Regions from separate parts of the Homo sapiens genome. Here region 1 is linked to region 2. The links are contacts of gene promoters, found by promoter capture Hi-C in human tissues and cell types (Jung and others, 2019). All regions are on one chromosome and are shown on one strand. The core of a region is centred on a gene start or on the middle of the fragment in contact, and the rest is flanking DNA. Distances in the headings are between cores, read along the strand shown.

Evidence for each region. The method cuts DNA at HindIII sites, captures the fragments that hold promoters and counts their contacts. A contact is called where the count stands out against the background at its distance.
Region 1: a contact is called between a fragment that was not itself captured here and the fragment with the promoter of PCMTD2 in region 2, in 9 of the 25 tissues and cell types used here (H1 embryonic stem cells, IMR-90 fibroblasts, dorsolateral prefrontal cortex and 6 more).

What each region holds. Positions count from the first base shown.
Region 1 is chr20:64,158,626-64,163,223 of GRCh38, forward strand. No RefSeq gene overlaps it. Among named protein-coding and RNA genes, the nearest start is that of MYT1, 3.5 kb to the right of the region's middle. RefSeq lists enhancers at 74-794, 2,705-4,185. The HindIII fragment of the contact is 3,096 bases long and covers 832-3,927 here.
Region 2 is chr20:64,253,178-64,258,088 of GRCh38, forward strand. It overlaps PCMTD2 (protein-L-isoaspartate (D-aspartate) O-methyltransferase domain containing 2), which reads left to right and starts at 2,571. Exons shown (of 6, transcript NM_018257.3): 1 at 2,571-2,693. The HindIII fragment of the contact is 11,329 bases long and covers 1-4,911 here.

The sequences.
Region 1 (4,598 bases), core at 1,130-3,629, 95 kb before region 2:
TGCCCCTGTCCTCACCTGCCCAACCTGTCTGTGTCCCCCACCTGCCCCACTGGTCCCTGCCACCACCTGCCCCACCTGACCCCGCCCCTCTTCTACCTTCCTGACCCCATCCCCTCCCCTCCCCCTACTTGCTCCACCTGTCTCACCACTGCCATATGCCCCTCCTGGCCCCACCTGTCCTACCTGTCTCCCCTGCCTCCAACCTGCCCCTCTTTTGCCCCCCACATGTCCCCCCTCCCCCCTCCTACCTCCACCTGCCCCACCTGTCTCCCCACCCCTACCTGCCCCTCTTGGCCTCCCACTTGTCCCCCCTGCACCCACCTGCTTCCTCCTGCTTCTCCTGCACGCTCACCAGCCTCTGAGCACCTTCACCCCTCGATGTTCTCTCCTCTAAACAAGATGACTCACCATTTATTTCCAGCCTAATCTCTGCCCCCAGCCTCAGCCTCCATACTGTCACCCTTGTTGACGGTGTCACCTGGTGACTAACAGGCGCTCAGACATCCCAGCAGAGCCAGCAACTCCCACAAATCTGCCCTCCTTCAGCGTCTCCCTCTCAGGGGGTGCTGCCGCCCACCTCATGGCTCTGGCCAGCCCTGGAGTCTCCTGTGGCCTCTCTGTCCCTACCACATCCAGACCCTCAGCAACCCGATTCATTCCTGAGGGGGTGTCCCAACTCGAATGCAATTCGTCACTTCTCTTGGGACACCCTTTACCGTCTATTGCCGCCCAGTAGCACTCACCATAGACCTCACTGAAGATGTAAATGTTAAACATTTTGCTCTTGGTCACCCAGCTGGGAGGGGCCGGTCAGGGGTCAGTCCAGATCTGCCTCCTCCAAAGGTTTGAACCCTCCATACTCCGGGCCTCCCCCTCAGTGCTGCCCTGGATGGGAGAGACTAGCCTGGACTTGGCCACGTGTTGGTAGAGGTAAGCCAGCATCACCTGGGCCTCCACCTGTCCCCTGCAGGGACAGACACCTGCAGAACCTGAGGACCAGGAGGTGACCCTGAGCTGCCTGGGGTGATGGGAGCTTCCCTCGGCATCAGGGGAAGCTGGCCCAGAGGACAGCCGGGCTCCATGGTGAGGCCAAGTTCATCGTTTCAAAGGGCCCCTGTGGGCAGTGAAAGGTCGTGGGCCCAGTTCGAGGGACTAGGAATCATTCTGGAAGAGGCCTCTGCAGTGCCCACCTTCACTCCCATCCACACACCCTGCCCCTCCCTGGCCCTGGCGCGGCTGTAGCTGCTGGAAGGTCCAGGTCCTTCTGGGCAGCCCTCTCTCCCTGCCCTTTCCTTCCTGCACACCCCACCCTCTGCCTGCAGGGCCTGAGGTTGTCGAGGGATTCTTGACTTCTACAGTTTGCCTCCCCCTGGCACCTCCCACCATACCTTGTGCCTGGGATCTGGTGGTGGGGAGTCAACCACACCAGCTGAGGGCCCTCAGGGGCCTTGTCTCAACAGGCAGTGATTGGGTTGTAGGGAGCGAGACCTGACCCCACTCATGCATCCTGGCTGGTTCCCCACCAGGTTTCAGGCTGGACCTAGTGTGGCAGTTCCGAGAGAGGAAGCGGGGGAAGGGATGCATCTTCAGGAAGGGCCCCCTCCCCTCACTCACTGTGAGTCCATTACTGTGTGGGAAGGGCTGTGTCTCTGCCTCCCCTCACTCCCCTTCCCTGGCCCTGCGGGGTGGGGGAGAGATTGTCTGGGGCCTGAGCCCATTGTGTGGAGAAGAGAGCCTCATTGGCAGGCAGCCGGGGCATCAATTTGTGATTATCTGCTCCCTGGTCTTGATTGGCTGGATGCAGTGGGGTCTCCCCAGGGCCCTGGGACACAAGTTTGTGCAGCAACTTTTTCCAGCATGAAGTGACGTGTGTTCCCAGAGAGAAGGTGCACCCCCTGGCCAGGATGACGCTCTGCGGGACCTTCCTGGGTGCGTACCACCCCCAGCCCCTCGCGTCCCTCCCTGGTCTGTTCACAAGTTTCTGCGAAGATGCCAAAGGGACTAATTAGCTGTGTGTGTCCCCCCCTCAGAGCTCAGTGCTCTTTTCTGGGCAGCCAAGGAGGTGACAGACATGCTCCCTCCTGAACAATGGCCAGGGCCCCTGGGGAAACAGCCACCTCCCCTTCTAGCGGATCCCGTGGCTTGCAGAAGTGCTGACGGCACAGAGCCCTGTGAACGCTGCCCTGCAGAAGGTTGGAGGTGGGAGGGCGGTGGGCAGGGTGTGTGCAGAGGCCAGCTGGGCCTTCTTTCTGTTGATTTACCTGCCTGGATCTGCCTGGCAGGCCATATAGCTGGTGGGTGTCAGGAGCCCTTGGCCTGGAGCAAGGCTCTGTGAGACTCTGTGAGAAGGTGGCAGAGAGAATGTGTGTGCGCGCGCGCGTGCGCGCGACAGATGTCCCCTGGGACTTAACTGTAGCTAAGGGGCTTTGGCCAGGGCCGCTGCTGCTTGCGTCCTCATCACACTCAAAGTTGCTGTGTGTGTGAGTGCACGTGTGTGAGTGTGCATATGTATGTGAGGGTCTCACAAACTGGATGCCAAATGTTTGTGAGCGTCTGCGTGAGTGTGAGACAGAAACACAAAGTCAGCCCCGAGTGTGGCGGAGAGTGGATCCCGGTTTTGTTTGCTCCATCTGCCAGGGCCGGCCTGGGGCAGCACCCCCGCCCTCAGCTGTTCTATACAATATTAATGCTCACCATCTCGGCCTCACACAACGGCCCTAATTGTCGTCTGCAGCATTAAGGCAGGCGCCCATCTGCGGGGAAGCTTTCAGAAGGAAACAAGAAAACCCTCACCCCCAGCTGGTCACCGGAGAAGGTGGTGCCAATTACAGATGCAGAAAGTTTAGACCAAAATTACTTGAAAGAGTTTTTATGAAGCAAATGAACTGACACTTGGAATGTCTGTGTGCAGATTTGCACAAGTAATTACACTTTATTTGAAATGATCTTACCAGCTAAGCGATCATTAAGCCTGCTCCCCCACTCACACAAAGCGCTTTCTCAGCGAGTGCGGCTGCGGCGTAAGTTTGGTTTTGCAAATCTCCCGTTTCCCTCCCCGTGTGGAGTCTGAGGACCCGCCAGTCAGACAGGAGTTATTTCCTGGTGGATCTTTCCAAACATATTATTAAAAAGTCACATGTGACTTTCCCACAGACTTTTATGAAATAAAACCCAAAGGAACAGCGTGCAACATGCTCAGTTATGGAAGAGAAAATATTTTATGATTTCAAAAAGTCCTGACAAATTTTCACCCTCTCTAAGAAAGGAAGCTTAAGACTATACCTTGCTGTTGTCACTTACAAGCAGGGATCTGTTGGGGTTTGGAATTCTCTGTCTCAGCCCGGAGCCCAGAGTTCAGCGATAGCTGAATACTGGTGCGAGCTCAGAAGCTTCCGTGTGCGGAGAACAAAGACTGAGGCGCTCTGGGGGGAGAGCGCTGTCCGAAGTGCTGATCAGACTTCGGATCCACCCACCGCTCAGGCCGCCTCCCAGGGGCTGAAGGGCGGCAGCCGAACCGGAGAGACGTGCCGGCGGCCGCTCTTCTGTCCTGCTCTTTTCCCTGGACTCCTTTGTCTTGACGGGGTCAGCTAAAGACTTCGAACCTTTACTCATCAAAGCTCATCTTCGGAAACTGCTCATAGCACTTTAACCTCCCGGTGGGAGCTCCCAGGGCGCCCTAGGTCCTGCCAGCAGGCACCGATTTCAAGTTTCCAGGCACATTCTGAATGCTCCTCCTGGCAGCGCCACAGAGGGTCTGGGGGCCCATTCCCGACCCCCGGAGCGCCACACCTCAGGAGGCCTGTGATTGTTCAAAAGGGGAAGTGAGAAATGCCGAAAGACTTACGTTTTCACAAATACAATTTCTATTACCTGAAAAAACTGTTGTGCCCCACGAAGCCCGTGTTGCGCAGGTTCATCTCTCCTGCTGCCACCTCCGCTTCGCTGTGGTTTCTTAGGTGTGACTGTTGCATATCTGAATTAAGTCGCTTTCATGAAACCTTGGGTGTCGTTGGGAAATAAGGCTGATTCAGCAACGGCCCTCCCTTTGATTCTGTATTCATCATGGAACAATGGCCCGCAAGCCTGCCCGGAGCCTGCAGCCTGCCGATAAGAGTTTAATAGAATTTCTGAATGCCGAAGGTTTGGGGTGTAAGACATCCTAGCACTCACAGCATGTCCAGAGGAGACAGAAACGGCTTTTCAGGAGTGCTCTCAGCTGAATGTGTCCTTTTATACTAATGGATATAAGTTTATGACAGAAATTAAAAATGGTAGGCAGTCATTGTGGAAACCTCGAACTGTTCTCATTTGACTAATTAATATTTCATCCTCAGTTTGACCAGTGCAGGCTTGCATTTATGTCCTTGTGCTCAATCTGAACAATTGCTCTGTGTGCATTTTGTGTTTTATTTGTTGAGGATAATGTGTGCGTATAAGAATCTAAGATACTTGCCTTTGGGGTGAAGCTTTTGGTTTGTATGTAACGTGTAAAGCACAAACTGTATGTTAAAAATAAGCCACTAAGATTTTCAAAACATGCTCTCTTAGAGAAAGCTGTGTTCAGTTCTGCCTCAGTCACACTTTTGGTGGCCCGAGCC
Region 2 (4,911 bases), core at 1,321-3,820:
CAGTAGATGTTATCTGTGAGGAGGCCAGGGCAGAGGGAGGCTCAGCTGTAGCTGGTAGAGGAGCGGGGGTCATTGTTACTAACTTGGAGATGATATGTCTTAGATTTTGTGGGTGGCACAGTTACCCTGTTTTTGTTTGTGCTTAGACAAAATTATGACGTGGCCTTGGATCATGATGGTGCTCCTCTACAAAATTATTTATGTCCAACAGGAGACCCCATGGCCTCGATCTGAGTGCCAGGCCAGCTCCTGATGTCACGGTCCACTTTTCTTCTTGGAGGTCATACTAGTACCTATTTCATGGAAATAACCCATGTAGAGTGCTCAGTATATACCCTGTGAAGGGTTATGAATGCTGATGGTAGTGGAAGCTGATGTGGAGGGGAATGGTGGAGACACCTTGGAAAACCAAGCAAGAGTCTGAAGTTGTGGCAGGCCGGGTCTCACTAACGCAGGCCTCCATTACAGCTGTCCCAGCACGGACTGAGTAGCCAGGTTAAACATTAAAAGCTGATTGAGCCAATGCCCTTATACAAAGGTTGGAATGTAACAAAGAGCCCACCAAGAGTTTTGCCTAGGCTCTTCCTGGGCCTTGAAGCATGACAAGATAACGAAGGAACTCTTAACAGGACCCTTTTTAGGATTAAACAAGTTGTATTAGGGATCTGAAGAAACTCCCCAGGCCTCCACAAACAAGTTTATGGGGGTCTAAAGGAATTCCCCATATCATTATGATTTAGCAGGAGACAAGATAAGGGTAATCACCCCAGCACCTAGACCCATTTAGATTAAGTAAACTTACTGAGGCTCCAGAAGAGGGTCTTCAGGACTCAACCTTAGTCATAGATTAAAAGAAGTTAATCACTTATGTCTGTAGATGAATGCACACTTACATGTAGACATACAGCTTAGAAGGTATACGAGCTTTGGAAAACTTTGTAATTTTGAGTTGGTATGGTGATAATTTCCAGGCCTTCTCCTTGTAACCGGTTACAGAAATAAAACCTCTCTTACTCTCCAGCTCATTTGCATCTTGTTATTGGGCCAGGAGAAGTAGTAGCCCGACCCTCAGTTGGGTCCAGGAACAAAGGGAGTGTCTGAAGACAGCAGTGATGTGATCACCTGTTTTAGGAGGACCACTCGCCAGAGCCCAGGGGAATGGTGGGAGGGGTGGGGAGAGGTGAGGGGAGCTGGGACAGGGCAAGGAGGGATGTATGGAGGACGTGTCCCCTGGCAGTAGGAAGAGAGTCAAGGATGACTCCAGGGCTTCTGTAATTTGAAACAGTCACAAATAACCACAAGCTCTCAGGTGGAAGGACACTGAGAGCCCCATGAAGGTCATGAGGTGGTGGGCCACCTCAGGTCCGTGGATCCAGGACCATGGATCAACAAGAGAAGTGAGGTCTCCCTGGGACCACATAACGTGGTGAAGGCACCGGCCTTTGGTTTTCAAACTCTGCTCCTAAGTGGAGCTCCAGGGTCTGGGGAGGAATGCCGAGTTAGGAGGGAGGCGGGAACCGGAGACCCAGGCCCACTCGTCCGCCCCAGCGACGCTGGCACTTGCACATATGAGGCGGCTTGCATGGCTGTGCTTGAAGAAAGGGTTCTGCAGCTACAGCCTATCTGCAAAGCCCCACGCGAAGTTTGGGCAATGGGCTGTGTGAACCCAGAAAATGGGAGACAGGTCTCAGTTAATTTACAAAGTTTATTTTGCCAAGGGTGAGGACGCGCCCGTGACACAGCCTCAGGAAGTCCTGACATGTGCCCAAGGTGGTCGGGGCACAGCTTGGTTTTATACATTTAGGGAGACAGGATACATCCATCGATACATGTAAGAAGCACATCGGTTCGGTCTGGAAAGACGGGACAACTTGAAGCAAAGGCAGGAAGACTCCAAGCGGGGAGGGAGCGTCCAGGCCACAGATAGGTGAGACACCAACGGTTAAATTCTTTTGAGTTTCTCATTTGCCTTTTCAAAGGAGGCAAATCAGATATGTATCTATCTAAGTGAGCAGAGGAGTGACTTTGAATGGAATGGGAAGCAGGCCTGCCCTAAGCAGTTTCCTGCTGGAGTTTTCCTTAGTGATCTTGGGGGCCCAGGATATCTTCCTTTCACAGCTGATTTCACAAAGCCGGCTGGGTAGGAGGGCCCCAGGGCCGGGTGGCCGTCCGCGTGGCAGGGCGGGGGTCCCAGGGCGGCTGTGCTTGGTGCTGGGAGGCCGCCCGAGGGCAGCGCCGGCCCCGAGTCAGCAGCCGCAGGGCACCCTGGAGATGCGGAACGCCCCCAGCCGTGGGTCAGCAAAGGCGTCTCAGGTGACCCTTAGGGAGGGCTTCTGAGGCAGCCCGTGCGGGGTCCGTCCTGGCTGAGCACTGCGCGGACGGCGCGCCCGCGAGACTCGGACCCGGCCTAGGGCTCAGCGAGCTCTCAGCGGGGCGGGCGGACGCAGGCAGCCCAGGGGAGTGGGGCCCGCCCTGCGCCGCCATCACCCCTTTAAGTGCCAGGCCCGCGGCGCATGCGCAGTCAGGCCGTTGTGCGCAGGCGCAGAGGCGGCGGCGGCGGCGGCGGCGGCGGATGTTTACGGCGGCCGAGGTTGGAGCGGCGCTGCTCGGCCGCGGACACACGAGGGACGCGCCCGAGGAGCTGCAGGTGGCAGCCCAGGCGGTCCGAACCCGTCGGCCGGCCGAGCCTGGAGGTAGAGCCGCCGCCGCCGCCGCCGCCCCTCGGTCCGGCCTGCGGCGAGCGGGTGGTGTGTCCCCTCGGCCCCTTCCCTCCTCCTTCCCCACCCCCGGCACCCCTGCGCCCGGAGCTCTCCTCTGGGGGCGTCGCTCCTCCCCACCTCGGGCACCCTCACCTCCCCCCAGCGGCCTCCAGGGCGTCCCGCGTTTCTCTCTCCGAGCGCTCGCGGTTTCCCGTCGGTCTCTCCCGGTGCCCGTTGCTCACTCACACTCTTGGGTCTGGTTAGTCCAGACCTGCAGCTTGTCTTTGACTTCCCAAGTGGGAAACGTTTGCAGTTCCAAGGCAAGCCAAGAGCTAAGGTTTAGAACAAAGTCTGCCTTGGACCCTTTCAGAAGATGACAGGATTTTTTAAAAAAATAATTGCGCCCCCCCGCCCCGTGCCTTGGAGATAGTAAGAATTGGAGCAGAGCACTGGGACTTCAATTCACGCATGGAAAGAGATCTTTGTTAGTTGGAGGAAGGAGAACTTGCCTGAGCTTCGGGCCTTTGTTTTGTTTTTGTGAGAGGGACGTGTCTCCTAAATGAATGTTTGCTCCAGCGTTGCACCTCAAATAAGTCACCTAAATATCCACGCCCTCTTTATCCACCCCCTCTTTACTCGTGTGACTAGAATAGTTTTCATTTTTCTTCTCAAGGGAATGGCTAAACAGCTCCTATCTGGGCGTTTGATAGACTGTCATTCAAGAATGAGTGAAGTTGAGGTGCCTATAAGCAACTCAGAAATTGTTGTGGCCACGCTTGGGGGAAATAGAGCCCTACACTCAGGTGATGAGAGGAGACCTCAGAGGTGACCGATCCAGGGCCTTGCTCCCTGCGCCACCCCAGCTCGTACCTCCAGTGGAACTTGGCTGGGCTTATCAAGAGCTCCTTTCATTCATTGCAACTTCATTTGTTAGAAAGCTTCTCTGTGTATTTAGTAGGCATTGTCTCCAACATGTACCACTGGTCTGGCTTTTGTTAGGCCCATTAATAGTGTACATGTGACAGCCTTTCAAGTATAGGTGCTCCCCGGCTTACGGTGGGGTCGCATCCCAGTAAACACATCGTTAAACCTGAAGTCGAACCATCCGAAGTCGGAGACCATCTGTATTTGAAAAAAGTCCCTTTGCATTGCTTGTAAGAGTTCTGGTTTTCAAGGTGAGAAATCTGTTTGTGTGTTTGTTTGATCATTCTGCCCAAAGGAGATGTGGCTTTGGGTCCTTTTCCCCACTCATCTTCCACAATGAATTACTTTGTCCATATTACCCTAAAGAAGTGACATCCAAGTTGGAATGTGATCTTCCGTATGTCGCCTCCCAAAACCCCACTACCATAGCTTCATGCTTGTGTTGACACAGCCACAATCACAACTCAGGTGTCAGTTCTGAGACCTTCCCATGCCTGTCGCCACTCAGCAAGTGTTCTTCATGTGCCCTGGCAGTTCGCATTGTAAGGAGCAGCCAGGTTGTTATGGACTGTTGCTAGTTACCACAGAGTAGTGAATTATATTAAGGATTAATTACAGCAGACAATGTGCACAGTATCATCGAGTGCAGCGTTCTAAAAATGATTCTACACTTTTACTTTGAAAAATTGGATTTGACCAGATTGTAGAATCTGGGTGAAAATGATAGGATTTGGTTTGGCGAAGAGCTTTGTTGTCGGTGTTTTTGGTGACATCATGACTGATCATATCGATGGTTTTCAGTGCGAGGGAGTGTTAGATTACCAGACAAAGATGGTAATAAATATCAGACCCCACAGCTATTCACATGGATCCTACCAGTGGCAATAGGTATAGATAGGGTTACCCCATCGTCAAAAGGTTACCGGTGTGTTGTGTGGTAAAGAACGTTGCTGTCTTGAGTATTTTTAAAAGCTGCACTGGTGTGGTATTAAAAACACAGGCCTTTTGCCATACAGTCCTGGGTTTGAATGCAGCCCCCTCCTCACAAACTGGCTATGTGATCATGAACAAATTAACCGGCCAGCTCCAATTTGCTTCTTAATGTTGTGAAGTGTAAATGAGGCCATGACTGGCAGGTGGTACCTGGAAAAAGGTGCTTGTTTTTACTAAAAAGCTGTCTGAACTTTCAAATTAAGGCAGAGTTCAAAATAAGTGATAGTTACTTAGTGGAAAATGAAACCTATCCAACATACAGTTTGAGGTTACCTTCTAGAGATGTGGCATTGAG